Linked DNA regions of Homo sapiens: regions 1, 2, 3, 4, 5 and 7 are each linked to region 6. The links are contacts of gene promoters, found by promoter capture Hi-C in blood cells and fetal thymus (Javierre and others, 2016). All regions are on one chromosome and are shown on one strand. Each heading gives the region's core, a stretch centred on a gene start or on the middle of the fragment in contact. The rest is flanking DNA. Distances are from core to core; before and after follow the strand shown. Region 1 overlaps XPNPEP1 (X-prolyl aminopeptidase 1). Region 2 overlaps RBM20 (RNA binding motif protein 20). Region 3 overlaps XPNPEP1 (X-prolyl aminopeptidase 1). Region 4 overlaps RBM20 (RNA binding motif protein 20). Region 5 overlaps RBM20 (RNA binding motif protein 20). Region 6 holds the start of SMNDC1 (survival motor neuron domain containing 1). Region 7 overlaps RBM20 (RNA binding motif protein 20).

Region 1 (3,958 bases), core at 373-2,872, 430 kb after region 6:
CTCCAGGCTGCTCCTGTCCCAGTTCCCAGGACTCTAGCTAGGTCCTGTTGCATCTAATCGTTCTCATTTTTTTAGCTTTTAGAATTATCTCTTGAACACCTATTTTGTTTCAGACACAAACAGAGGTAGACATAAAGAAATGTGTTACTTTTCCTTTGTTGAGCTCTTTATCTCAGCTGGGGAGATAGGTTGATTGGATCTTTGAAAAGTAGAAGTTTAATATTAGTTGAAATAATTCATTATTGCATAACTTTCTATTTTGATATAATTTCAGGCTTATGTAAGTTGCAAGAATAGTACAAAGAGCTCTTGTGTGTCCTCCTCCCAGATTCACTAAGTGTTTACATTTGTGGAATAATTAATTTTTAATTAACTTTGTTAGGCCAGTCCCTGAGACGAATAGGACCTTGTCCCTGGATGAGGTGTACCTTATTGACTCGGGTGCTCAATACAAGTAAGTAAACCAGGACTGCTGTGGAACTTGACTATGGATTCGAGGCAGTGGAGAAGGTGGACAGCTGAGCTCCAGCTGAGAGCACTCAGCTGGTCATCGCCCTCTGTGCTGGCCACTAATGGAATCGTTCCTGTGTCTTGTCATTTTTTTCACCCCTATTTGAAATAGCCCAGTTGTGACTCTGTTCTCACAAAAGACTGTTTGATAGAAATGTTACAGTCCTTGGCTGGAAGTTTTAAAAATATAAGTAAACAACTGTGAAGTAAAGCAAGCTTTTGGAACCGTTGAAAGTTTTCCACCCCAGCCCATGAACCGCCTGCCGGTTCCCTGTACTCTCAGCTGCCCCAGGGCCTTATGAAGTAAGGGATTAATTTTGAATGAATAAATGAGAAATGAGGGCTGCCCCCACATTTCTGAATTTCTTTCTCCATGTTTTGCTGCTTTCACGGCTATCATCTCTGGAACAAAGTTTCTCAGAGAAGAACCCAAGATTTGGTTGGGTCTTGATACGGAACCCAAAAGAAGGAGTAAGAATAGACCCTGTCTGCATTAAGAGGGCACGAGCAAGGCCTTTTTTTTGAGACAGAGTCTCACTCTGTAGCCCAGGCAGGAGTGCAGTGGCGTGATCTCGGCTCACTGCAAGCTCTGCCTCCTGGGTTGCAGCCATTCTCCTGCCTCAGCCTCCCAAGTAGCTGGGACTACAGGTGCCCGCCACCACGCCCGGCTAATTTTTTGTATTTTTAGTGGAGACGGGGTTTCACCATGTTAGCCAGGATGGTCTCGATCTCCTGACCTCGTGATCCGCCGGTCTCGGCCTCCCAAAGTGCTGGGATTACAGGCGTGAGCCACTGTGCCCAGCCGAGCAAGACCTTTTAGTGCTGCTCCATTCCCCACTGAAGTTGGGACTATGGCTAAGGGAGGACCTAATTATTGAATGAGCTCAGCCAATTACGTGGCAACCATGCCTGGCCTTGGGACACAGGGGTGTTAATAATATCAGCCTAGAGCTAAGGATTGCTTGATAATGGTGTAAACTTTTCTTCACTTCTAAATTTTTAGCAGGATTCTAGAAGTTATCCTTTCTATGTCAGGGATATAGTCTAGTGTGTGTTAAGATATGTACTTGGATATTTTTAGGGTCTCTGTCCAGGAAACCCCCTGCTGTTCTAACAGGAGAAGTTGGGTTTTGGCCCTCTTTTGCTAGAGATGGGCTCCTGTTTTCTTTGCCTTCTTCTGTCTTGTTCATAACCCCAGTGATAGTGTCTCTCGTGAAACAGCCCTTATGCTGTAGACCAAGAATGCGTGTGTCAGGGGCTGACGTCACTCCCAGTTTATTTAGCCATCCCTGCATTCACACTTTGTTTCATTTTTTAAAATAACTTCATTGGGGTAAAATTTATGTACCATGTAATTCACCCACTTAAAATATACAATTAATTTTTTTTATATATTCACAGAGTTTTGCAGCCATCAGCACAATCAATTTTAGAACATTTTCATTACCCCAAAAAGAAACCTCATACCCAATAGCGGTCACTACCCCCTTTTCCACTACCCTGGAGAACCACTACTCTCCTTTCTGTATCTATGGATTTGCCTATTTTGGACCCTTCATAGAAATAGAATTGTATTATGTATGGCTTTCTGTGTCTGGCTTCTGTCATTTAGCACAATGTCTTCCAGGTTCATCCATGTTGCAGCATGTATCAGTATTCCATTTCTTTTTAATTACTGAATGGTATTGCACTGTGTGGATAATCCCCCATTTTGTTTATCCATTCATCAGTTGATGGACATTTCAGCTGTTTCCATCTTCTGGCTATTATGAATAATGTGGCTGTGAACCTTCATGTACAAGTTTTTGTGTGGATGTATGTTTTCAGTTCTCTTGGATATATAACTAGGAGTGGAATTACTGGGTCATATGGTGACTATATTTAACCTTTTAAGGAACTGCGAACTATTTGCAAAGATGGCTGTGCTATTTTACATGCCCACCAGCATTGTATGGGGCTTCTCACTTGTCCACATGCTTGCCTGTGTCATATTTGACTTAAAGCTTATTTTGACGGGAAACCAATTTGTCCTTTTTTTGGAAAGGGATGGCACCACAGATGTGACGCGGACAATGCATTTTGGGACCCCTACAGCCTACGAGAAGGTAAGGTGGAGGTAAAAAACTCAAGAGGTCCTCTCTGCTTTCTTAAGAAGAGCATTGCTTTTATGAAAAGGGATTGTATAAAGAAGTAAAAATTACATGTGGGGTAGTAAAATTGCTCCTTGCTGTGGAGTCAGGCTTATCTGCTTTACGAGGTTCATTTAACTAATTATTGGAATAAGACATTTGGAGAAATTTTTAAAGCATTCTGCTAAGGTTAGGGCAGCTCAGGTGTAAGTTTAAATATAATAGCTTTGGCCTTCTCTTGAGTCAGGAAATGCCTTTGAGGCTGGGGATGAGAGAGTGAAATACATGCTTTATAAGCAGTGCCTAGATTTGATTTTGAAGGCCACCCCCTTCTTTTTTTGAGATTCTTATTTACAGGCTTAACTCTCTGGAAACTTTCTGAAATGACAGACTCTATTAAGTTTCTGGTATGATTGGCATGGAAAGGGGAAAGAGAGCTGTGAGGCAGAGAGATGTGTACTAGGGGTCTGGAGACCTGGCTTCAGAGCTTCTGTGCCATTTACTAGCTCTGTGACGTTGAACAAAGCAGTCACCATCCATAAAAATGAGGATAAAAGGACCCACCTTCCCGGGTGGCTGTGAATTCCCATGAGCCCAGCAAGTTCCTGGATCATAGTCACTGCTCAGCAAATGCTGATTGAGCACCTAAGTGAATCTGTTTGTCCAAGAGAGCTCCTTCAGGAAGATTATCCAAGGAAAAGGGTTTTATGCAATGTAGTGGGGCAGGTTTCATTGTCTTGGTCCCTTGCCTTTTCCATTTGTATTCACCAGTGCCTTAGAAGAATTTGGACCTTGCGTCTAGGATTCTTTTGGTGTGACTCTTTTTGTGCTTTTCAAAGAGCTCAACCAGGCTGAGGAGCATGGAGTTTTAGTCCTGACTCTGCACCTTACTGGCAAGCTGCTACACTTCTGAGTAGCACTTCTCTTGTCCGGACAGTGGGGATAACCCCTGAAGATAGGATGGTGGTAGGGAGCACAGCTGTTGAAGCAAGAGTGCCTGGCTCCAAGGCCAGATGCTGCCACTTAGGCACTGTGTGATCTGGGCATGCTACTGAATCTCTCTGTGAAGCGAGGATAACAGTAGTGCCTCCATCGTGAAGTGTGGGATCAAACATACAGTGCTTAGAATAGTGCGTGGCACAGAGGATAGCTCAGTAATGTTAGCTAGGGTCATCAGTACTTTTTATTACTTTTCCATTCTTTCTAAGGCTCACATGATGGAGTATGTCAGAGTGTTCATTATAAAGTCATGTGGGGTCATCTCTCTGACAGTGCTCTTCTACTAAATTGAATTTCAAGATTTTCTGGGAAATTGGTCC
Region 2 (4,285 bases), core at 1-2,500, 490 kb before region 6:
AAAGTACCCAGACCTACCTGATTAGTCGACTTCATGAGGATGTAATTAGTGACCTTTCCAAAGGGCAGCCCCAGGTTAATGACGTCATTCTCAGTGCAGCTTCCTTCAGGGAGATTGCAGATGTGCACCACACGGCCAGCCCCTTTCCGCTGTGCAAACTAATGGGAACAAAGATCATTAGTGGTATTCAGAAGACGGTTCCCTTTTCCCCTCTCTTCCAGACGTTCTTAATGGCTATCTTTCCCCTAAACAATGATTGTAAAACTATAATTTACAAAATTAATGCAGAAAAAATCCATTCACAGACACACATAAAATATCAATTTTATTCTATCTCTTTACAAAAGGATTCATTATATATATATATATTTTTGAGACCGGGTCTCACTCCCATCACCCAGGCTAGAGCGCAGTGGTGCAAACACGGCTTACTGCAGCCTTGACTTCCAGACTCAAGTGATTCTCCCATCTCAGCCTCCCAAGTAGCTGGGACCACAGGCATGCACCACCATTTCATAATAATGTTTTTTATAAGCAGTAACAACGAGGGCTGTGGAGGATATGAGGAAATGCACATATCCATATGTTGCTAGTGGGAGGTTGAGTATCTGTAAACTTTTGAGAATATACTTTAGCAATATTAAATAAAACAAAGTATACAGAGCCCATGATCCTGCCATTCCACTCTTAGAAATGTATCCTATAGAAATAATAGCACCCCAATATGTGATGGCTCATGTGCAAGAACATTTATTACAGTAATTTATTAGGTGGCAAAAAATTGGGGGAACAGCCTGAATGTCCAACAATAGGGAAATGTTTGAGTAAAGGATGGCTCAATCATAAAATTGAAAACTACATAGCCATGACAAGAAGGAGGTAAATGTGCTGATATAGAATAATTTTTTTTAAGAAGTCAGAGTCTTCCTGTACCACTCAGACTAGAATGCAGTGGCACAATCATAGCTCACTGCAGCCTTGAACTCCTGGGCTCAAGCCATCCTCCCGACTCAGCCTCCCGAATAGCTGGGACTATTGATGGCTTGAGCCATCACACCCAGCTGATTTTTTAATTTTTATTTTTTGTATAAACAGGGTCTTGCTGTATTGCCCAGGCTAGTCTTGAAATCCTGACCTCAAGTGATTCTCTCACCTTGGTGATATGAAATACTTTTTAAGACAGATTGTTAAGTTAAAAGCAGGTTACCAAGTGGTATGTGTACTATAATGCCATTTTTGGAAAACAAAAATATATGAAAAAAGACAGATGAAGCAAGTGTTGTAAAATTTTGATAATTATTGGAATTGGGTGATGGGTATACAAGGATTAATTATACTGGTCTCTACTGTTCCGTATGTTTAAAAATTTTTGCAATAAAAAATGCTTAAAGAATATCAGCACATACAGACAAAGATGTGCAGCATATATATCAACCTGTCAATGCTGGTTATCTTCAGAGAAGCAGAATGGGAAGGCAGTAAGATGAGACATGCTGAACCTTCTTCATATATACCTCATGTTGTTTGACTTACAATTCCAATAAAGAAAAAAGAACATAGAAAGTTTGTGGGAATCTAATACATATGCATTGATATTCACAGCAAAAACCTGTGGTTTAGGGCAGTGGTTTTCGAAATATTTTTAGCTTGGAGTCCTTTCTTCAAACAAAACTGGTTTATCCCAATGTATTCAACAAATAAAAGAGGAGCTATTCTGGTCAAACCTTGGGGTCCGGCACCCTGGCACGACCCCCACCTGGCAGTCTCAAAGGCACCTCTAAGGAACACAGTTTGGAAGCCAACATTTGGCCCTAATCAAAGCTCCTGGAGGGAGGAAGTGTGTCTGTCTGTTTTGTGCAAACCTTAATCAGCCTGGAATCTCTGGGAGGGTCAAGAATTAGTAACCATAAGCCAACCCAATGTGGAAGAGAAGGATATAATTTTCCGAACCTGAAACACATTCTAATAGCATAGTCTCCATTTGCATAATCACAATTTTCTATGTTAAACTGAACTTCTACATCTAATTACATTTGATGTGGGGCCGACTCTGCTAAGGTAATACAGGGGGAAAGTCTAAGATGTCACCCCTAACAAGGGCTAATACTTGGGTAATTCTACCATGAAAAGCCCTCATTTGTCTCATTTGAGCTGAAAACAATTACAGTCAATAAGAATTTCCTTTTATGGTTCAGCCCTGAATTGTTGAAGCCCAAGTGCCTCTTTCCGACCTCCCACTCTGCAATGTCCAGAGGTCAAGCACTTTCCCAAAGGGGAGCAAGGATTCAGGCAGCTCCCAGAGCAGCTCCTCATCTTCCTAAAGTGCAAATGGACTCTCCATCAGCTAGGAGACTTTGAGTCTGAGCCTGGCTAGTGAGGACTGAACCCTTCTGCAGAAACGAAAGGAGGAGTGCTATTAAGAAGCAGAATCTTTGCCTCCCATTAGTGTGAGTGTTCACTTAAAGATGCAGACACAGCTGAGCTTTCAAGCAGGGTAGAGTGGCTGGTCCTCTGAGCTTATCACAAGGACGGCTGAGGCTAGGTGCTCTGCCTGGTCTCTTAGCGAGGCACGTTTCTGCCCCATGTGACTTTGCTGTGGTTGGCCTGTGCTAATGTGTGCTTGGACAATGGAGCAGACACCCAAGGCAGTTCCAGGCCTATCCTGCTCCTGGCCTATCCAGTTGCCTAGTGAACAGGCATGAGGGCCAGTGCCTCTCTCATTGTCTCCTCCAGACTGAAAGGACAACTCAAGAGGCTTTTATTGGAACATAGCACAGCAACTGCTGCTGCTGGGTAGTAGAAAAAACAACCTCGCAGCTGCCAGTCACCAAAGAAGAGAAGCATTCATGCTGAAGATGTCGTTACCAAAGGCACTAAGTGAATGGGTCTCAATTAAAATTTCCAGTCAAATTTTAAAAAGACATCTTCTGAGTTCTTTCTCTTCCAAGATTTTAATCAGAAACAGATGCTGGATTTTACCAATTCCCTTGTTGTCATTTATTAAGACACTAATGAGATTTTTAGTATTCTTCCAGATAATAGTAATTTGGAGCTTTCCAATTATGAGCTACATCAACTGCAAATGGTTATAGGAGTGCCAAGATATTGATCCCTCAGGCTGAAGGCCAAGTTCCTCCAGTGATCATGAGTAGCTTCTTCAGTTAAACCATTTACTTCAGCAGATTATTTTCTAAGTGAGCCATGAAATGAAAATCTTGAGAATCTCTAGGTTAATAGTTTGCTTTTGTGTGGTGTCTGGCTTCAGGGCATGTGGTAAATCCTATCCAGTTAGAAAGATAAATTAATTTTTATGTGTTCTATTCTTTTGCCAATATTTTATTTAGGATGGTTCATCAAATTCTTTTCTGCCATTGATCTGAAATATCTTTGGGTTGTTGTTGAACTCCATTTAGGTTCAAAACCATATATGATTCATACAAGATGTAGAATAGTAGCTGTTTTCACTCTATTCTATTCTCATTACACTTTACATAAACATGGCTATTATTTGCCCTATGCCCTGTGGGAGATCTGAATCATGAGGGAAAAAGGGAGGGAGCGAAGGAGGAAAGTGAGAAGGGAAACAGGCGGAGTGAGGTCCCTGAGTGGTACATCAAAAGTACAGTTTGTACATCAGGGGCACCGGCAATCCTGAGTGCTCTTGAGCAAGCGTCACCATGCTACGCAGTAATTCCCAACCCGGGCTCTCTTATAAGCCCTTAAAGGTCTTCAAAGGTAATAATACCACAGGAAGCAGGGGGCTAAACATTATTCTTTACATTGAAAAATGCGAGTTGAGATCGTACTTTGAATTTCTTTATCAATATGGTAATGTGGTGTTAAATTCAATTTGGCCTGAGGATGCCTCCATACTTTGAGTTCTTATGTAAGGAACTGCATTTTAACTTAGCACATCACCTAGGTGAAAGCCTGAAGTAGTGTACTTTTCTAACAAATAGCTGAGTCTCAGCCAATCACAGCAGCCAAGCTTCAGTTAATCACAGGCAGCCAACGATCAGACCATGTTCAAATTAGGCAAATACGGAGATGTAACCTATCAAGCTGTTTCTGTATCTGGCTTCAGTTTTCTGCCCATAAATGCTGCCTGCCCACGTGGTGCAGCGGAGCTCTCTGAACCTCTTCCGGTTCTGAGGGCTGCCCAATTAAATTAAACTCTGTTAAATTTAATTCATTTACAATTTGTCTTTTAACACTGGTTAGCTCTTAGGCTAATCAGAAAGTCTAATTGGTGTGTCTCTGTCTTTGATTAATAAAAATGGGTCAC
Region 3 (3,916 bases), core at 520-3,019, 410 kb after region 6:
CTGTAGCAGGAAGGGACAGGGTCTGCATGGGAGAGATTGGTGATGCTACCTCAGAGGAGGACCCAAACAGGAAGTTTGGAAACAAGTCAGTATCTACAGAAACTTAAGTTAGGGAATTGTTGGTGCTTAACACAGAAATTCAGCCTTACTTTTCAGAAAAATAACAGATGCCTAAATGTCAGTGGCAAGGAGGGGAGAAGGCTATTATTGGTTTGATTTTTGAGTAAGATCTCAGTGAAGAAAGAGCAGTTTTTATCTGTTTCTCCTGATGTGCTTTGGTTCTCCTAATGAGGAAATAGAGGCTAAAGGGAACAGCTCTCTCTGCCCTTAATTAATTCAATCTTCTGCAGTGTGTGCTAATCTGTTGTTTTCAGCTAGACTGTTGGCTTCTTGAGGGCGGGGGCCAAGGATTCCCCAGTCTTCATAGTCCCCGCTGAGCCTAGCACAAGGCTAAGCAGGCAGAACAGTCTGCTCATGACTGATCGAGGCCCACTTTGTTGTCATCTTTGTTTTCCAGAGTGAGTATATTGCTCCATGTGACTGTCGGCGGGCTTTTGTCTCTGGATTCGATGGCTCTGCGGGTGAGTCACTACTTTTTCTCTGTTCTTGCTGCACCTTTGTTCGCCTCCTAAAAATAACTGAACCGAGTTTCAGCCTGTGATATAGAAGCAAAAAGAAAATGCAAACCAGATGCTCCACATTGACTCTCTGCAGAAAGGTGTGGGTTCCCAGTCTTTCCCTGCTCCCCAAGGTCACCTTTCAGTAACCCTTTTTATTCCTCTCTGTATCTTTGCTTCAAAGTTTTAACAATTTTTATTTTTAAAAAGTTTTTGAACTTTTTATTGAATATAACATACATATAAAAGTTCTATCAATTAAACTGAATATACCTGTGTTACTAGCACCCCAAATAAGAAATGAGACTTTAATATAGTTTCAGAACCTCCTCTCTTAGCTTATTGGTCCCAGATAATTCTCCCAAGTGCTTGGCTTTTGGTTTCTGTTTTCACTCTTGGCTTAAATAACAAAGGTTAACTCTAAGCTGCATTGGTGTTCCTCAAAACCATTATGCCTTTGAGTTTTAGGGTGGACTCCCCACTTCAGGTTTGTTCTCTAAAGCAAGCTGGACAAGGTGGGAGCTCCCCTCCCCTCATGGTTAGCATGCTGCTTCCTTTGGCGTAAGTGCTTGTGTTGGTTGGCGCATTAGGATTGGCTTTGGCTGACACCTCTGCCAAAACCCCAAGTTCTGCCAGGCCTGTGGGAACGGAGGGCAGATAAAGGTAGGAGGCATAAGCTTCCTGCTAGTGACCACAGCAGGAACACTCATAGGGCCCACTTGGTCTTTCTCCAGGAAAGGTGAAACAGCTCCCCTGGGGTGTCTGGTGGAGCAGAGGAGTGGCTGTAATTGCTGAGCAGGAACCATCCCTCCCTGTGTCTTGTTGATTATACGAGACCACTTTGGCCATAGGTCTACAGTTCTCCATTCTCTGTTCTTGACTCATACTGTGCAAGTGGAGTCCTTTTTGTGCAGGGACCAGTGCCAGGTAGCTTGGGTCTCAGGACTGTTCTTTCAGAGCTTGACACACAGCTTGTTTTCAGTAGTGTGGTCTTCTCTTGCCCAGAGGTTTCTTTGGAGTCAAGGACCCATCTGCCCCACTAGGAGCTGATGCCTCTTACTGCTCTTGCCTGTCTACTGTCATTTTGTGCAGCTTCTGAGCAGTTGTTAGAAACCTTTCTTCTTCTTTTTTTTTTCTCCCCTGCTTCAGGCACAGCCATCATCACAGAAGAGCATGCAGCCATGTGGACTGACGGGCGCTACTTTCTCCAGGCTGCCAAGCAAATGGACAGCAACTGGACACTTATGAAGATGGGTGGGTACAGGCATGGCTAGCCCAAACTTAGTTGGCCTGATCTGGGCAGGGATCCTAGAGGTCCTCAGGACTCCTGGATCTTAATCCTTTTATGCAGTCATGGACCCTTTTGAGAATCCAAGGAAAACTGAGAAAAAAAAAAATGGCATGCCTATACATACGTACCAATGTGCATTCAATTTTGGAGGACGCTGGTTCAGGATACTTATTTTACTGAGGGGAAACTGAGGGCTAGAGAGGACAGTTGATTTGCTGCAGATCACATTGCTGTGCATTTCACTCCTGTACTGGGGGCCTTCTACTATTTGCTGCCTCATGATTCAGAGTGAGATAAAGGCAAGGAGTCATTGGCAACAGAAGCCAGAAAGCTTTCCCCTGAGGCTCTCTCTGAGGATCTTGGATTTGCTTCTGGAAGCTTAGCTCTGGAGAAGAGCAGCATTCAGGACAAGCGAACAGGTCTGGAACTTGCTTGGGCTAGTCGCTTCACTTGAGTGCTTTAGTTTCCTCATCTGTAAAATGGGTTAATCACAGTAAGTAACATATAAAGTGGTGAGAATTAAAGCATTACTATGTGGAAAGCATATAGATCAATGTTTATTGAATAATGTGTGTATATACTCTGTGTTTTCATTTAATTTTCTGCCGTGTGTACTTTCCTGTCATTAAAATAGTCTTTAGAAACACGGTTTTAGGGACTGTACAAAGTCTTTGCTTCCTGAATTTTGAACTTGGAGAACAGAAGATAAGGAAGGGCCAAGTGAGAAAGAGAAGATGAAACAAAATACCTGATGCTTCTTGTTTGTTGTAGGAAATAATGAGGAAAGAAAATAGTCCTCAGACTCACAGCAGGAAACAGAGGACTAGACCATGACCTTGAGATCCAGGCAGCCAGCTGACTGAGGGGTGTGTGCACTCAGGTGTATGCCACACACCCTCCACATACACACACATGTGTTCTTTGTCTTAGGGAGGAACAAGGAACATTTTTGTCTTGGCATTGGATTAAGTTTCTATTTCTCAAAAATCATTTCATAAATATAAAAACACCAAAGCTACAGATTGTTGCCTGTTGCTGCAGTTGATTTCTCTTTCCCTTTCTCTCTCTCTCTCTCTCTCTCTCTCTCTCTCACACACACACACACACACACACACACACACACACACACACACAAAGGCAGGCATTTGAAGCTGGCTGTTATAAATGGACAAGCTAGTGGCCTTTAAATTTTTTTGTTTGTGTGCTTCTGTTAATGGGAGTCAAGCACCCGCAACATGTATGTATGTTTGTTTATTTGTTATTTATATGTGCTAGTGTTCCTCTATATTCCAAATATCAAAAACTAACTTTGTAATTTCTTTATAAAAAATAAATACAAATAGAAGCTCTGTTACTTTCTTCTTGCACCCAGTAGATCATTGTGTCCCCCTGGGGAGCAGGCATCTCTCTTTGGGGCCCACGGATTCCAGCTCTTAAGTCTGTTAGCATTTTGGGGGTCAGAGGCGCAAACACTGCCTGCCTGTTCCTTAATGTAGGTATGTGGCAGCAAGGGGGTGGCAGAGGGAGTGAGTCCTCCTCTCCTCCAGGCTCCTTCCTAGTTTCCTCAGTCGAGTCTTCTGTGTAGGGAGATTCTGGTGGGTTTGGTTGGCCAGTGAGTGATTCATCCCTGGGGTTTTGCCGAAGATCTGTCTGCTAGGAAATGACATGACTTCATCCTGTGAAAGTTATATTATGTAGTGTACTAGGGCATTAGGAGAAACTGTATTAATAAGTGGCTTGTTTAGTGGTTTGAAAAAAAATAGGAAAGAATCAAATAGCAGAATGAAACTCAATGTCAGCTTCTAGGCAGTTTTTTAGAATTGGAATTCATGAGCTTCTTTCTTTATAAACCTTTGCACTTCCCTTCTATGGTTATGTGGTTGTATCAGTAGTCAGTAGAGAAAATAGTAAAGATAAGTTTCTACTGTTTTAGAATATGTGAACTTTTACTCTAAATATATGTATATTTTATCAAGATGTTAATTGTTTGGCCAAAACCTCATTGGTT
Region 4 (4,115 bases), core at 824-3,323, 410 kb before region 6:
AAATGTGATATCAAACATTTCTTTATGCAAAAACCAAACAAACAATGAAAAAAACTCAATCAACCGATGTTTAAAACACAATTACAGGAAGGATAACAAGCACAGTTGTAAATTCAAATTTTCCATGTTTTAAATCTTTTTTTTTTTTCTTTTTTTTTTTGAGACGGAGTTGTGTCACTGAGGCGGGAGTGCAGGGGCACGATCTCGGCTCACTGCAAGCTCCACCTCCCAGGTTCCCGCCATTCTTCTGCCTCAGCCTCTCAAGTAGCTGGGACTACAGGCGCCCACCACCACACCTGGCTAATTTTTTTTTTGTATTTTTAGTAGAGACAGGGTTTCACCTTGTTAGCCAGGATGATCTTGATCTCCTGACCTCAGGATCTGCCCACCTCGGTCTCCCAAAGTGCTGGGATTACAGGCATCAGCCACCACGCCCAGCCATAATTCTTTTACTCTATACTCCAGTCATTTATTCCCCATGAATATGCATACTGAAATACCCACTGTCTTCTGAACTCTGATCATTGTTTCTTGTACACTGACTCCAAGTTAGGACATAATAACTTGCAATATTAGATCACCCAGATCACCCCAATCCCAAATCCTACTCTTTCAATGGCAATTGCATGAATAAAGGTAAACAGTACACGTTTAATTAGGCCAGATGTTACATAATTGAGACCTGGTCAATGGGCCTCCATATAGGCCTACAGAGCAGGAGAAGCCAGGTGCCCTGAGGCTCTGGGGTGAGGGTGGTATGCAGTTGCAGGAGTTGTTCTATGGCAGGAAATGAGGCTAAGCCTTGCCCTGGAGGGAGACATCTGGGGCCTTCTAAGGGGACTGCTTCTGCCCCTAATTACGCACCTACCATTCTACCTCCTCATTACTAGGAAAGAGAAAAGACCAAGACCTTCACACAGAGGATGCCTAAATTATTGATTAGTCTTTTCCAAACTGGAAAATTGGCAATACATACTTGACTTTTCATCACTTACATTATCCCCTTTTTACAAATGAAGAATGTGATACTTCCTGAGACAACTTTGCTGCAAGTGAGTGAGGGAACCAAGAACATAATCAAAAGCTTGTGGAGAGACTTCTAGTGCTCATGCTCATCTAGTTCTTTTCTTCTGGGCACACAGGGGGATTACGCTTTCTGCCTCCCTTGTAGTTAAGTGGGGACCATGTGATTAGTTATGGCCAATGGGCTGTGAGTAGACGTGATGCTATCTCCAGGCTGGGGTGAGACCCTTCAGTACTGTAATTGTAATTGCAATGTAATTGCAGGGGTGAGACCCTTCAGTACTCTCTCTTCCCCATCTCAGTGATCAAGGCCACATGTTCCAGTTAGCTCAGCTATAAGATGGTGGAACCCCAGTCATCCTGAGTCCCTGAGGAATCATATGGAGCAGCCCCTCAATATTCACCCAACCAAATCATGTAGGATTTGTGAATGAGTGAGAAATAAAATTTTTGTTGTATTAAACCTCTGGGGTTTTGTGGCTACAGCATAAACCTAACCTATCAGGACTTAACAAAAAAGACTTTAGTCTAGTGGAGGGCTAAGATATGTACATAAGTACAATGCAGCAAAGGAAAACTGACATTTGATGGCCTGAGCCATCTACAGTACTCAACCAACATCTGATGAAGGAGTACATGCATGGCTGATATGAAAGTGCTGCAGACAGTGTGATGACACAAGATGGAAACATTCACTTCCACTTGGGAGTTAGTCAGTAAAGAGTGATGGAGTATAGAAGTACGAATATTCACAAATTATGGGTTTTTTCTTTGTTTGTTTTGTTTGTTTGTTTTTGTTTTTGGACAGAGTCTCACTGTGTCGCACAGGCTGGAGTGCAGTGGTGCGATCTTGACTCACTGCAGCCTCTGCCTCCCTGGTTCAAGCGATTCTCCCAATTCAGCCTCCCAAGTAGCTGGGATTACAGGAGTCTGCCATCATGCCCAGCTAATTTTTGTATTTTTAGTAGAGTTGGGGTTTCACCATGTTGACCAGGATGGTCTCGAACTCCTGACCTCACGTGATCTGCCTGCCTCGACCTCCCAAAGTGCTGGGATTACAGGCTTGAACCAATGCTCCCAGGCAATAAATTACATTTTAAAAACCTTTTGGATTACAGATATTATTTTCATCAACATCATTTGGGAAGGCAATCCTTTTTCCCTGGGCCACCCCTCCAACAAGTGACTTGAAGACCAGGAGACAATTCAAGCCAGCTGGAGCCTCCACCCTGAGCTGCTGGGTCTCCAACCAGGTCAACTACTAGGGAAGGATTCTTCTTGGAAGATGGACCATGTTGCCCCTTCTCAACAATTCTAAGGGGCTGAGGACAACCAGGAAGGACTGCCTCACCTGGTACTCTATCTGCTGCTCCTACTGGTGACTCCTGTTGGGCATGGGCCACCCACAGCTCCCAGAGGCTGTTCCTGCTCTCTTGGGGCAGCAGCTCCTCCTGACAGCTGACAGCAGCTGCTCTCATCAGCAGGTCTCTCAGCAAGTTCTAGAAGCAGAAGTTGCTGCTGTCAAGTAATGGGATCTTCTAGGAGTACCTTGGGTTGGAAGCTCTTGGGTCCTCATTGTCTGGCCCTTCTAGCAGTTCCTAGGAGCCTAGATGGTCAGGTGGTCAGCTCAGTATGACTACAACCACTGCAGAGCACAGCTTCAGACAGGCCAGTGCTAAGCCAGCTTTATTTGTTGCAGCAATGGTACTAGAGACATCTGCCAAACAATACTCCTTTACACAACCTTTTCATTGACCTCCAAGAACTGCAGATATGGTTACATTTCTAGCTACCCAGCATGGGCAAGACCCAGGTTCATGAGGCTCTTGAGTCAGGGAACACTCTTTTCTTTCTTAAGAGGGTCTCCTACCATTCCCTAATCCCAACTATGCCAAGGCTCAAGTGTCTACTCAGGAGGCTTAGCATGTCCCAAAGTCCTCTTCCCATAGCCCATCTTCAGAATCAGGAGCACTGCCATGACTGTAACTCCAGGCACAGATCTGCTTAGCCAGGTCCTCACAGGAGATGGGTAAGCTTCATTCTAATAACATTCCTGGGTGATGATCCTTTGGGCCATGTATCTTCTAGGGATTAATACATCTGAATATTATCAGTCTTCACAATGAAGTATTTCTTACTGTTCCCAACTAGCCCAAAAACGTAGTCCTTAGTAGGCTGGAAAACGCACTGGCACAGGGATAAGGAGCCCGGGATTGTGGTTCCAGACTTGCCACTTACTAGCTGGGAAACCTGAAAAAAATAATCCCCTCTCTAAGCTTCCATTTCTTTATCCATAAATTGAGGTCAGATGTGCTCTACCTACTTTAGGGAATGGTTGCGAGGCTGACATTAAATTGATGAATGTGAGTCTCTTTCAAAACACTGTACAAATGCTGAGTAGAATTTGTCCATTTATTCTTTAATTTGCCAGTAATGCATATATTTAGATAATAAAAAATTCCTCAGCAATGCCCTAAAAACCCAGTTGCAGTACTGAATTATTAAATGACTACTCTGCCCCTGTAGCGTGCAAAGTGTCATAAGGGACACAGGAGATTTAGGGCCTCATCTTTGTTCCCTAGTGATTTATCCTAGTCAGGGTTATAATCGTATTGCACCTAAAATGAGAGTGGAGAGGACTCAGGATATCACTCAAGCCATGTTCCTTACTTAACAGCAAGGAAACTGAGGCCAGGAAAGATTATCTAATAACCAGCAACAGTTATAATACTAGCTAAGCCTAGTGCACGTTACTCTGTGTAGCAGACTTGTTTAGGACCACACAGCAGATCTGTGGCCACGCCAGACCTGGAATCCTAGTGATGGCTCTTTGGCCAGGTTTCTTTCCATATATTTTCCATAAAAATCCACTTCTCTGCATCTGCCCCGTTAGTCAAGCCTGTATGTATGTCAATGACTTATCTTCTGTGATTCTCACACTAAAAGCCCTAAAGAGCAGGGAGAATAGAGCAAGCACTGAGGGAGTGGACAGAACAAAAGAAGCATCACAAGAGGTATTCTGGGGGAAACTGAGGCAGTCAAAGAGGAAGGAAAAGACACTTTACAAATATGGACGCCAAAGTTAGGGGTGA
Region 5 (3,909 bases), core at 764-3,263, 430 kb before region 6:
AGAGTGGGCACCTAATGAATGTATATTGAATCAACACTCTTCCAGATTGCAGATTCTTGCAAAATTTTCATGATCTCCTGCTCAAATATCTTCCTAAAAACACAGCATGACTTCAAGAGCCCTCAACTGTACTAAAGTAGTTACATACATATAGCATAAATCAGACTATGCAGGCCTTGGTCCTCAGGAGGACCTGTCAACAGACAGAAAGACATCCATCTGATCCTGTGCCCAGCCAGAAAATGCCACCTGCGACAGGTACTTCCTGACTGTCCAGACACCTCCCCATACTCTCTCAGTTACAGATAAACTCCCTTAAGGATTGTGAGCAGCTGTGGACCATTTCAAATGCTTCCTACTAATTCTTGTAGCTGAATGGGCCCTTCCTGCTCTGCTGTGATACGAATCTGCAAGGAAGGCGAGATCTGGAGAGTTCTCAGACCAACACACCTCACAGCTATAGGTCTGGGCTCCCATCACAGGCACAAAGGCTGCAGCCCCAACCCCAATGTCAGCCTCGCCACCTCCTCTATCCCCATTCCCGCCTCCATGCTCTGGCACCTTGGCACTCCTTCAGCTCCAGGAACATGCCCCGCGTGCTCTTCCAGCTTCCTGGGAAGCTTCTCCCTCACCGTACCCTGGTATACTCTCCTCATCCCTCCAATCTCAGCTGTGTCACTGTTTCAGGAAAGCCCCCCTTCCATGCCACCCTCTCCCCCAGCCCAGATCCACTTCCTATGTCATAAGTGTTAGTCCAAGTTGCACCGTTTCGTAAGCTCCCTGTCATTTCACAGACCTTGGTCAAAGTGAAACATTCCACGGGGGGTTCGGGCCGTGAGAAACAGCCTGACCAACTGCCTGACTTTGCTGGGAGAAAGGGCAAGGAACATCACATTCCACCAGAACAAGGGCCAAACCACCTCATCGTGGGAACATGTTATCAACATTTTCCCAGGCAGCAGGCCATGCTCCCCCCAGACCCCTCCTGCTCAGGCCTATAATTGCCCCAGCCTGTAAGCAGCAGTGGGCACTGGCATTAAGCTGGCCCCCAACCTCTGCAGGTTTTATGTTGGACATAAAGCCTATGTTTTGCTGTAGGGCCGCCAACTCTCTCTCTGTTTTTCTTTAACCCTCACCTTCCCTTTAAAAAACCTAACAGTAAGCTGTCCTGGGATCCTGCCTCTTTCCTCTTCAGCACTTACCTCCATGGCAATCACACCACCTTACCTTGGTGTTTGCTTAATTAATGCTGGCACAAAAGCAGAAACCACATCTGCTTCTGCTCCTTACTATTCCCAATGCCTCACATAGTGCCTGGCATATAGATGATGATTAATGATGACAAGAATCTAGCAGCAGGCAAGACCTGGTCTTATAGGCCCCAGTAAGGAAATTTAACAACCCAGCAATTCCACCCCAGGTGTATACCTGGCAGAAATGTGTACATATGTTCTCCAAAAGACACGTAAAAAATGTTCACAGCAACATTCTTTGTAATAGCCAGAAACTAGAAACAACCTATATCCATCAAGAGTAGAATGAATAAATAGTGGTGTATTCCTGTAATGGAATACTACACAGCCGCGAACACTAACCAGGTATAATTATTTGCTACAACATGGATGAATGTTACGAACATAAAACTGAGTAAAAGAAACTTAGGCACAAAAGAGTATACACCATATCATTCCAATTACGTTAAACTCAAAAAAAAAAAGGCAAACTAATCTATCTTCAGAGAGGTCAACATTGTTAAAGATCGTCAGAGGCTGAAGAGTGACTCAAAAGGTAGCCACTTGTTCCTGGGGTGCTGGTAGTGTTCTGTTTCTTGATCTGGATGCAGGTTTTTAGGGATATGTTCACTGTGTAAAAATTTATCAAGCTGTTCACACATTATTTCTATACATTATACTTTAGGACCTTAGTCATTTCAGATTGCTAAACCTTAGACCAGGTAACTTAAAAACAATAGAAATTTATTGCTCAAAGTTCTGGAGGCTGGGAAGTCCACAATCAAGGCACCAGCAGATTTGGTGCCTGGTGAGGACCACTTCCTCATAGATGGTGCCTTCTTGCTGCCTCCACTCACATGGTAGAAGGGGTGAACAAGCTCTGTTGTTTTTGAGTGTGTGTGTGGGGTGTTTTTTTTTTTTTTTTTTTTGAGGCAGAGTTTCACTCTTCTTGCCCAGGCTGGAGTGCAATGGCACTATCTCAGCTCACTGCAACCTCTGCCTCCCAGGTACAAGTGATTCTCCTGTCTCAGCCTCCCGAGTAGCTGGGATTACAGGCGCGCAACACCATGCCCGGCTAATTTTTTTGTATTTTTAGTAGAGATGGGGTTTCACCACGTTGGCCAGGCTGGTATCGAACTCCTGACCTCAGGAGATCTGCTCACCTCGGCCTTCCAAAGTGCTGGGATTACAGCTGTGAGCCACTGCGCCAGGCCGGGTCTTTTTTATAAGAGCACTAATCCCACTCATGCCTTCATGACTTAATTGCTTCCCAAAGGCTCCACCTCTTAATACCACCATCTTGGGGATCAGGTTTCAAAATATGCATTTTGGAGGGATACAAACATTCAAACCATAGCATTCAATGAAGAGCTTACTGAAAAAAAGGAAAGAAGGCAATTCCTCCATTAGGTGGTGGTGGATCTCAATAGGCCCACAGGGTGTTTGGCAGAGCCAGAGCACAGCCTCCACTGCTCCAGGCATGTTTCTGCATTCCCAGCACACACGGACACCTGCAACCACCATGTCCCTCTCAGTTTCTGTCATCTGGATTGGTTTCTTTCTTTCTTTTTTTTTAAGATGAAGGTAAATATTTAAATTTTCTCTCCCAAGAAAATTCAGATGAAAACAGGATAAGTATTCAATGACCTAATCCAAAAAGTGTATAAAATTTAAAGCAAAGACAAAACAAAATAAAATACCTAGTTCTATACAGCAGTTTTATACAACAGTGTCTTGACACGCACAGATAGTGTGTGACTAAGAAGGGAAAAAGAAGCAAGGAATGGAATTCAGTGCAAACTGGGTATATTGTGTGCAAATGGCATTTGTAGAGAAGTAAATGTGTGGAATGTAATTTGGGAAGATGGACTTTATATCTTTAATTTTTGTAAAAACTGCATTGCAATTTTCTTGCTTTAAGCAACTCCTTCCCAAGCCCTCTGGTTGCAAAACTGTGACTTTGTAATCCTAAATACATGTTATTTGAGATTTGCTGCCAAAAAATTGTGTTTCATCTCCAGGTCTGAAAGTGTGAATGTTCTGGGCAAATGCACTTGTGCTCTCTAAGGAAGACAGGCTGGCGTGTGGAAGGGTTGGTTCTGCCCACCGCCTAGTTAATCTGCCATCAGAGGGAGATGGGTGGGAGATACCATATCTTCAAAGCCTAAGCTTGTGGTTAAATTCCAGAGCCTTTCACTCTTGGGGTGAATGTTCACTAATCTAGCCATGAGATCAGCAATCCTGAACAAATACCCCAAACTCCTACTAAGATACATGTTAATTAGTAACTTTGACTTATGTACCTTTCGTGCATGGGTCAGTGTCCTGAGCTCTACATGTAGTAGCCGATGCTTAACTAGAAGGCATAAAACCTTGAGATGGGGCAAACAGACATGCTCATGCGCTAGATGACTGTTTTCATCAAAACAAAAGCAAATATACCTTTCACCCAGCAATCCTATTTACAGAAATGTATCCTTCCGATGGACTCATACATACATGCCAAGATGGGTGTGCAAGGATCCTCACTGCAGCACTGTCAGTAATAGTAACCTATCAGAGACAATCTAGATTAACAGGAGGCTCGGAAAACACATTATAATAATTTATACAATGGAACACTATTCAATCAGGACAAAAGCGCAAGGTACAGGCTTGTGTGCAGACAGGCTACAAT
Region 6 (4,310 bases), core at 1,217-3,716:
CACATCTGTAATCCCAGCTACTTGGGAGGCTGAGGCAAGGGAATTGCTTGAACCAGGGAGGTGGAGGTTGCAGTGAGCTGAGACTGCACCACTACACTTCAACCTGGGTGACAGAGGGAGAATCCATCTAAAAAAAAATTAATTTTTTAAAATTTGTGACAGGATCTCACTATGTTGCCCGAGCTGGAATGCAGCGGCTATTCACAGGCACAGTCAGTGTGTGCTGCAGCCTCAAACTTCTGGATGCCCTTCTCAGCCTTCCAAGTAGCTGGGTGCCATCATGCCATACTTTAATTTTCTTTAGTAGAAAGGAAATAGCTGTATATTCTGATGACAATTTGGAGCCTTTACATTTTATTTATTTACTGTCTTTCAATAAAATAAATATCACGTTTCAAAACTAAAGGTTTAAGATACTTTTTTTTAAATAAACATGATTAAGTTTGAATGCAAATGTTTTAAGAAAAATCAGACACTGAAAGTAAATTTTGACACTTCAAAGGAAATAGTAATTCAGAAAGCCTATTTGAAGTATTGCTCTTAGTTTTGTCTGCTCCAGTTTTGTCTGGAGCAACACCGCATACAATTGTGAAAATTAAATGAACCTGTGTAAAGTGCTTAGAATGGTATCTGGCACATACAAACTGTTATTTCTTTGTGAAAATTAAAATTCAATATAGCTTTTCTTTATAAATGAATGTTGCATAGATAAAAACAATCCTAAAAACAATCCTGAAAAAATTATTAAGATGGTATAGAAATCTATGATGGAACTTATAATGAATATTTGCCTATTTTCTGATCTATGGGGTTCAGGAAAAGTTCTCATTTAAGAGATTTTTACACAATAAGGTTGACTTTATATTCAAGGAAGTTCCTCCTCGCATCGGTTCTTAAAACACACAATTACAATAACAGAAGTTCTCTAAAACTACATTTTATTTTAAACGAATATTTATTTAAAAGCACATGCTTTCTGTTTTGTCTGCCTTCTTAATTCTAGCTACACACTGCTGCCCTCTGCTGCAATTTCAATCTTTCACACTCACAAACCCGACCTAGTTTCCATCTATACAGGTTATCTGACTCACTGCAAGGGTTATGTGTGTGTGTGTAGAGAACAAAAGGGAAGGCTCCTTGAAAAGAAAACTAGGAACTAAAGATGTTGGCACAGTTCAAAAGAGCCCATCTGAGAAGTGGGCCTTTTTTTTTTTTTTTGAGACGGAGTTTCACTCTTGCTGCCCAGGCTGGAGTGCAATGGCACGATCTCGGCTCACCGCAACCGCCGCCTCCAGGTTCAAGCGATTCTCCTGCCTCAGCCACCCGAGCAGCTGGGATTACAGGAATGCACCAACATGCTCGGCTTTTTGTTGTTGTTGTTGTTGTTGGTTTTTTTTTTTTGTATTTTTAGTAGAGACGGGGTTTCTCCACGTGGTCGAGCTGGTCTCGAACTCCTGACCTCAGGTGATCCGCGAGAAGTGGGCCTTTTTATGGATCCAGCAACAAACTCCCAACCTCCCAGGAAAGGTTGCTTCCTGTCATCTATATAAAACTTTGTGTCTCAGGCCTTTATTGCTTTTTTAATTGAAATAAATTATATATATATGGTTTAAAAAAAAAAGAAAAGGAAAAAGGGTAAACAGCAAAGAGGGTAATCAATAAAACATTTGGCTTCCACTCCAAACCTCTGAACAGTTTTGTGTATCCGTCCAGAAAGCGTATATATTATTACAAACATACACAAGGGGCATTTCTTTTTGAACACAAATGTGAGTATTCCTACCACTCTTTACCATTCTAGACTAACTTGGACGTTGTTCCCTATCAGGCGAGATTAACCCAACTAAATTAAAACCAAGTAGGTTTTAACAAAACAGATTTTAAAGAAATCAATCTTCTCTCCAATAGGTTATTTCTGTCACGATTTAATTAGCTTTCTGTTACTACTAAGGCTTGTATCATATAAAGTAGTGGTTCTCAGGCTGGGCGCGGTGGCTCACGCCTGTAATCCTAGCATTTTGGGATGCCGATGCAGGAGGATAGCTTGAGCCCAGGAGCTGGAGACCAGCCAGGGCAACGTAAAGAGAGCCCCCACCAACACCCCCCGCCACCCACCACCACCGCCCCGGAAAAGCAGTGGTTCTCAAACGTCAGCGGACATTGGTATCATCTGGTGAGCTTATTAAAACAAGAGTCTCTGGATTCAGGAGGTCTGGGGTGGGGCTTGAGAATTTGCATTTCCAATAAATTCCAAGCCGGAACTCCAGGAAGATAACCTGCATTCCGCGCCTGGCGAAGCCCAGCTACGCCATTTCCTTCCTAGGCCCCGCCTACTTCGTGTCCCTGACAGCCAGGGACTGGCTAGAGGGCGCGCGGAGTCACGTGAGTCGAGCGACCTCGCGCGAGAGTTTGTATTTCTCGCGAGACTTCACCGTCTCTGTCTTTTCCTCCTTCCAGTGCCCGGCGTTCCTCCCTTCCCCCTCGCCGCCGACCGAGTTCTTCCTTTTCAGACCGGGTCGCCTTGCTGTCGTCGCGGTGATTTTCCTGCTACTGCTACTGCTGCTGCTGCCACCGCCACTACCACTGGGCTCATTTGCCCCGACCCCTTCCCGCCGCCCCGCCCCCAGCCCCACACAAGGTAACAACCCCCCTGAGGGAGAGAGTAAGGCCTGGCCGGGCCCGGGTCCCTCCCGAGGTGAAGCGGAGGCCCAAGGCTGAGGAGCCCGCCTCGCCGGAGACGCCCAGGCGCTGGCCCTGGATCCCGGAGCCACGGCCGTCTCTCAGCCAGAGCTGAGCCTCGGCGGCCCGGCCGGCGCTGGCCTCCGTGCGGCGGCGGCAAACACGGCCCGCAGGGGACCGGGTCGGGTGGGGCTGGGCGCCGCGCGGCTCCCTGTGGAGCCTGCCTGTTGGAGCGCGGCGGGGCTCCGGCGGTGGTCTTGGAGCTGGCGTGTGGATTTCCACGTCCGAATGATCGAGTTGTGGCGGGCTTTGAGGTGCTGCGTGGCGGGGAGGAGAGCAGCCTGGGTCGCTGTAACTCTTAGGGGGCCTTTGCAGGCTCCCAGCCTTTGGTTGGACGGGAATTTTACGAAGGAGAAGGGTCCTCGGAAACGTGGTACATTTGCTTATAAACCATCAAAAAAGGTTAATTGGTATCTTATTTTCAGGAAAATGACTGAGCTGGATTTGGCGAAAGGCACATTCGTTAGAATGCCTAAATGGGAGAGTACCTGTGCTGTTCTTTTTGCTGAAGATAATGCACCGATAAATATTTAAGCGACTGGGCGAAAGATTTTTGTTTTGGAGAGGCACTTTTAAATACACTCTTAATTGAATAGTTCAAGTAAAGATCGTAGTTTGTGTAGTTAATTTAAAAACGCACTTGTTTGGCTTTGGAAGCATACTGTAGTGCTTAAAAATAAGTATTTGGATTGTTTTTGAAAGTTTCGACTTTTCCAACAGAGTAGTGCTTTTTAAAAAGATAACACTGATTATTGAGCCGAATTCAGCACCTACCCTGTGGATAGGAGTTAAAAGAAAATTAGAAATTTCTTTGTATCTGTATGCTTTTTTAAAGTATGGAATGTATCTCAAGTTTATAATCCTCAGAATCTGTTGCCTTTAAGTTTGTGGTTTAGCTGAAGTCTAAACTGAGAGTAAAGGTAATGGTGGTAAATTAAGCTGCAGTGTTAGAAGGAGTTAGAGGCAAAAACTGGTAATTCAGGCAGACAGGGGAGTTAGTTTTTTATGCCTTGATTTTTGGTTTAGTTTTCATGGTCTAACCCTTTTTATTTTCCCTAGATGTCAGAGGATTTAGCAAAGCAGCTGGCAAGCTACAAAGCTCAGCTCCAGCAAGTTGAAGCTGCATTATCTGGAAATGGAGAAAATGAAGATTTGCTAAAATTGAAGAAAGATTTACAAGTAAGTATGGGTAGACAATTGTACTTTTTCTCTGTTTTTCAAATTATTGCTTGAATCCCTAAGTACCCAAAGCGCCTTTTGAGGGGTTACACCCCACCCTATGTATATATGTAAATTCTGTAGGTACCATTGCTTGTAGAAGTAGGGTTGCTTCCCCAGTTCTCAGGTTTCTGTACATCAGAGTGAAATATTGTTCTTTGTTATATAAATCTTGTGTGCTTACATAATTTTTAAAAACTAAAGTTGATAGAAATTTCCAAGTCTGTCAGATTTTCAAGACGAGAGGTACATGTAACTTCACAATGAAAAACGCTTTTAGTTTTTAAGACCTGGCAAATGAAATTTAGTTCAAAAAGTAACAAAGATTGAAGGAGAAAAATAGAACCTTAAGA
Region 7 (3,993 bases), core at 1,244-3,743, 450 kb before region 6:
TATCCTAAGTTTAAGAAGTTAGTATCCTAATACTTCGCATATTCTGTGAGTACTTTTGGGTGCCTCCTCTGGATCAGGAGAAGGAGAAAGACCCACTCTACTCCAACTTTGTTTTACTATTTACTTCAATTAAAATTTGAATGGCAAGGGTATTATACTCAGCAAAACATGAACCCCATGGCCAAACACTCAGGGAGTATAAAGATATAAAAGTTGGAAAACATATCACATGTCACATATTACTGATCTTTCATAACAAGCTGAGTACAAAAGTCACCTTTGTTTAGGATCAAAATATTCAGCAACATAGAGGAATAGAGCAAAGAAAAACAGTGTGTGCTTGGGAGAATAATAAGCAATTAGAAAGCAAAATAAAAGCAGGTGGAATCTGTGCTCTGAACCACACTAGGAAGGAATCCTCATAGTCAAGGAAGCTGGGGGACTGGAAGCTAACAGCCCAATAGCTTGCCAAGAAAAAGAGGGGGCAGCTTGGAGAAACTTTGGCAGTATATCCTCTAATTCTTGCTGAGGGAACAAATCTGATTGTAAGTTGTTTTTCCCTGAAAGAGCACATGGCAATTGTTTGCTGAGGCTTTAACTGATCTCTTAGTGACATTAATTAATAAATGCACCAACCTCACTTGTGTAGGAACACTGCAGAACACTCAATTTTGAGAGAATTGGCAAGGAGATACCAAGTTTGGGTCCTTCTAAGTTTTATTAATTCAAATTCCAGTATCCATTATGAAATGATTTCCAGGAAATGGGGTCTGCTCTGATGCATATATCGTGACAACCACAAGGTTGTATAAGACCTGGTGACAGCCAGAAAGATTAGCTCCCACCTTCAGGCTTTCTGCATTTTGTCTTTTGCTAAGTCTTAAACAGAGAAGCACAATCACCTCCCTACCTTGACCAAATGATAGAACTCCTCTGGACAGAAAGGTCACATTCACTGCCATGAGCCCAGATGTGGGAGGAATGTGCATTGAGGTATGAGGAGGGAAGAGATGCCAGCTAGGCGGATCAGCCACATCAAACCTCGTGAGCAATGGGATGACAAACATCCTAGCCAGATCACTTTCACAGCCATCCTCAGTGGCTCCTCTAAATCTCAGCTTCTCTCTTAGGTGGGCATACTTGTGTTCTCTGTATAGGAAAAGACTAGAAGCGTTCTGAGGGCACGGATGCCACAATACCCAGCATGGTGCTTTCCACAGAGGAGAAGTCCATTAAGTGTTTTCTGAATCTGTAAATGATTTACAGGCTTTTCCTCATGTTGATTATAGCATCAGAGGTTTCCATCCAAATCTGGGATATGAGGACTGAACAGTCAAGAATTCATTCTTAACACTCAAGGTTTAAAGTTTTAAAATCGTGATCCAACACCAACTGGCTAAATCGTGATGTTGAGGGGAGCCCAAAGATGGGACTCACAAACCTGGCCCAAATTTATCCACTGAAGTATCCTGAGCCATGGCCACAGTCAGGAATCCGCTGTCATTGTCACAGATGCACGTTGGAGCGTTAAAGATCAGGGCATGCATGAGAGAAGAGGCTGCTGACTAACGCTGTCTCCACAGCCTGAATCAAAGCCAGCTGCCCTAACTTGAAGGGGCTGGATGGTGGCCACTCCAGGGCAGCTCAGGGCCAGGCTGAGGTGGTTGGGAAGCCAGCTAAGAGTAGTTTTCCCTTGGTGGTCATTTTTTTTAAGGCAAGGATGAAACTTATTGGCCAACCAATTAAAGTTACCCCTTGAGGAAACAACAGATGGCATCAAACAAGATGGGCTTTTCCATTCCCCAGTGTTAATGTGCAACCAGTAAAAGTCTCTCACCTTTTCCCCCAAGATGGGACACCAGGTCAATATCCCATGTGGCTACTAATATCTTAAAGCAAATAAAAACTTGTGGCCCTACATTCCCTTGATTTTTTCTGCACTGTAAATTTCTAAATTTCCTAAAGACACATAACACAATTATTAAATTGTAAATAAATATTAAACACAATTGTAAAATTTTACACAATAGAAATGTAATAGCTATTTCCTACGAGGGAAGGTTAGGTGATTGAATTATTGGATGAGCCCTCAGCTAAAAACAACTCTGAGTAAGTAACCATAAAAACACTGAAGAGCTGAATGATAGCACATCCCTACCAGGCTGATTTAGGGAGAAAGCTTTAACCTAAAGAGACTCGAGGATGATTTGAGTGCCAAAGCTGCTTTTGCCTTGCAGACATCAAAGGGGTAAGGATGAAAGATGTCAGGGCCCAGAGCACATCTGATGTAGACTCTTACAGGAGACATATACCTACAGTAAGCTGGGTCCCAAAGGGCCACACCCTCAGGATTAGGATGAACCAGGAGTAATATGTCACTTCCTGTCCCCCCCAAACCCATAGGCCCAGAGAGAAACCTGAGCAAAGCAAGAGAGGAAGTAGGAAGGGGATAAAATTACCCCTGAGATGTGACCAGAGGCCTGCCCTCATCCAGATTTGCACCCCAGGGTTCTATATCATACATGGACAATGAATTTCATTTGTAGTGACTCCAAAAGGCAACCAGAGGAAGGAGAGCACACTCATTCTAAGCCTCAGGGGATCTCCACACATAATTTCTTTACGGGCAATAACTAGTGAAATTGTCAGGCGTATCAGAAAATAGATCATCAGGCATAGAAGGAAATAAGGCAACATGAGTGAGAACCAGCATAAACAGCAGAGAGCAGAAACCGACCTGGACACACTTCAGATGCAAACTCAGTAAGTTTATATTTGCTAACCACATGAAAAAGTAAACAAGCTTGCAAATATCTGCAGAGCACCAAAAACTGTAAAAACTGACTTAGTAGATTTGGAAAAGAATCAAACAGAACTTCTAGAAAGGAAAAATTTAAAAACAAATGAAAATCTTATTGAAGTGTTTGGCAAAAGATTAAAAACAATAGAAGAGAGAATTAAGGACCAGAGGTTAGATCACAGGAAATTGTTCAAAATACAGCATCAAAAGCAAAAATATGGAAAGCACAGAAGAGTGGATTTAGACTATAGGGGATAAGTCAGAAGGCCCAACATATATTTGACTGGAGTCCCAAAAGAGGACAATGGGGATGGGAATGAGGTAATATGGAAAAGATAAAAGCTGAGAATTTTCCAGGACTATTGAAAGACACTAAGTGGTCAAAAGACCAGAGAATCCCAAGCAAAGTAAATGTTAAGGAATGTACACCTAGACCCATCGTAGTTACCAGTGATCACAGTGATTAAAACCAAGAGAAAAGCTTAGAGAAAAAAATATACAGATTATCTTAAAAGGGATCATACTTAGACTAAAAAATATCTCAACATCAAAAATGGAAGCCAAAAGACAGTGGAATAATATCTTTAATACGCTGAAAGAAAATAATGACAAATCTATAATTCTGATGAGGAAAGATGAATGACCCCCAAAGATATTCAGGTCATAGTCCCTGGAAGCTGTGAGTGTTACCTCATATGGCAAAAAAGACTTTGCAGGTGTGATTAAGTTGAGGATCTCAGAATTTAGATCTCATAACCTAGATGGGTAGATTTGGGTGGGCCCTAAGTGCAGTCAGAAGTGTTATACAGGCCAAAGAGGGATTTGACACAGAGAAGGTGATGTGACAGGAGAGAGATTTGGAGATGCTACAATGGCTGCTGTCTTTGAGGATGGAGAAGGGGGCCATGAATCAAGCAATGCAAGGAATGCAGCATCGCAATGCTGGGAAAAGAAAAGATTCCCCCCTAGAACCTGCAGATGGAGCGCAGCTCTGCAGACACTTTGACTTTAGCCCAGGGAAACTGATGATGGGCTTCTGCCTTCCAGAATCAAAGGAGAATGAATTTGTGTCGTTTTGAGTCACCAGGTTTGTGGTAATTTGTTACAGCAACCAGTGAAAACTAAGACAACTGCCACAAATACCCTGCCACAGTGAAGTGAAATCCAGGAGTTTTCAGGCACGCAAAGAGTTC

Evidence for each region. The method cuts DNA at HindIII sites, captures the fragments that hold promoters and counts their contacts. A CHiCAGO score of 5 or more calls a contact.
Region 1: a fragment that was not itself captured here is called in contact with the fragment with the promoter of SMNDC1 in region 6 in 1 of 17 cell types (monocytes); the score reaches 5.5 in monocytes.
Region 2: a contact is called between a fragment that was not itself captured here and the fragment with the promoter of SMNDC1 in region 6, in 5 of 17 cell types (fetal thymus, naive B cells, M2 macrophages and 2 more). The highest score is 7.2, in fetal thymus.
Region 3: a fragment that was not itself captured here is called in contact with the fragment with the promoter of SMNDC1 in region 6 in 8 of 17 cell types (total CD8 T cells, monocytes, non-activated CD4 T cells and 5 more); the score reaches 8.0 in total CD8 T cells.
Region 4: a contact is called between a fragment that was not itself captured here and the fragment with the promoter of SMNDC1 in region 6, in 6 of 17 cell types (M1 macrophages, M0 macrophages, M2 macrophages and 3 more). The highest score is 9.8, in M1 macrophages.
Region 5: a contact is called between a fragment that was not itself captured here and the fragment with the promoter of SMNDC1 in region 6, in 7 of 17 cell types (M2 macrophages, M0 macrophages, total B cells and 4 more). The highest score is 10.5, in M2 macrophages.
Region 7: a fragment that was not itself captured here is called in contact with the fragment with the promoter of SMNDC1 in region 6 in 8 of 17 cell types (naive B cells, endothelial precursors, M2 macrophages and 5 more); the score reaches 8.3 in naive B cells.

The regions. Positions count from the first base shown.
Region 1 is chr10:109,872,024-109,875,981 of GRCh38, reverse strand. XPNPEP1 (X-prolyl aminopeptidase 1) reads left to right here. Exons shown (of 21, transcript NM_020383.4): 15 at 383-454; 16 at 2,555-2,615. Among named protein-coding and RNA genes, the nearest start is that of XPNPEP1, 50 kb to the left of the region's middle. The HindIII fragment of the contact is 1,787 bases long and covers 729-2,515 here.
Region 2 is chr10:110,793,381-110,797,665 of GRCh38, reverse strand. RBM20 (RNA binding motif protein 20) reads right to left here. Exons shown (of 14, transcript NM_001134363.3): 6 at 18-158. Among named protein-coding and RNA genes, the nearest start is that of PDCD4-AS1, 75 kb to the left of the region's middle. The HindIII fragment of the contact is 5,481 bases long and covers 1-3,990 here.
Region 3 is chr10:109,889,677-109,893,592 of GRCh38, reverse strand. It overlaps XPNPEP1 (X-prolyl aminopeptidase 1), which reads left to right. Exons shown (of 21, transcript NM_020383.4): 4 at 518-581; 5 at 1,767-1,871. Among named protein-coding and RNA genes, the nearest start is that of XPNPEP1, 32 kb to the left of the region's middle. RefSeq lists an enhancer at 1,405-1,464. The HindIII fragment of the contact is 945 bases long and covers 1,297-2,241 here.
Region 4 is chr10:110,712,957-110,717,071 of GRCh38, reverse strand. All of the region lies in intron 1 of RBM20 (RNA binding motif protein 20), which reads right to left. Among named protein-coding and RNA genes, the nearest start is that of RBM20, 71 kb to the right of the region's middle. The HindIII fragment of the contact is 1,973 bases long and covers 1,087-3,059 here.
Region 5 is chr10:110,735,430-110,739,338 of GRCh38, reverse strand. The region is part of intron 1 of RBM20 (RNA binding motif protein 20); the gene reads right to left. Among named protein-coding and RNA genes, the nearest start is that of RBM20, 93 kb to the right of the region's middle. The HindIII fragment of the contact is 2,781 bases long and covers 623-3,403 here.
Region 6 is chr10:110,303,076-110,307,385 of GRCh38, reverse strand. SMNDC1 (survival motor neuron domain containing 1) reads left to right here and starts at 2,466. Exons shown (of 6, transcript NM_005871.4): 1 at 2,466-2,638; 2 at 3,799-3,918. The coding sequence starts at 3,799. RefSeq lists a silencer at 2,635-2,954. The HindIII fragment of the contact is 6,895 bases long and covers 1-4,310 here.
Region 7 is chr10:110,753,554-110,757,546 of GRCh38, reverse strand. All of the region lies in intron 1 of RBM20 (RNA binding motif protein 20), which reads right to left. It also overlaps the pseudogene RN7SKP288. Among named protein-coding and RNA genes, the nearest start is that of RBM20, 110 kb to the right of the region's middle. The HindIII fragment of the contact is 624 bases long and covers 2,182-2,805 here.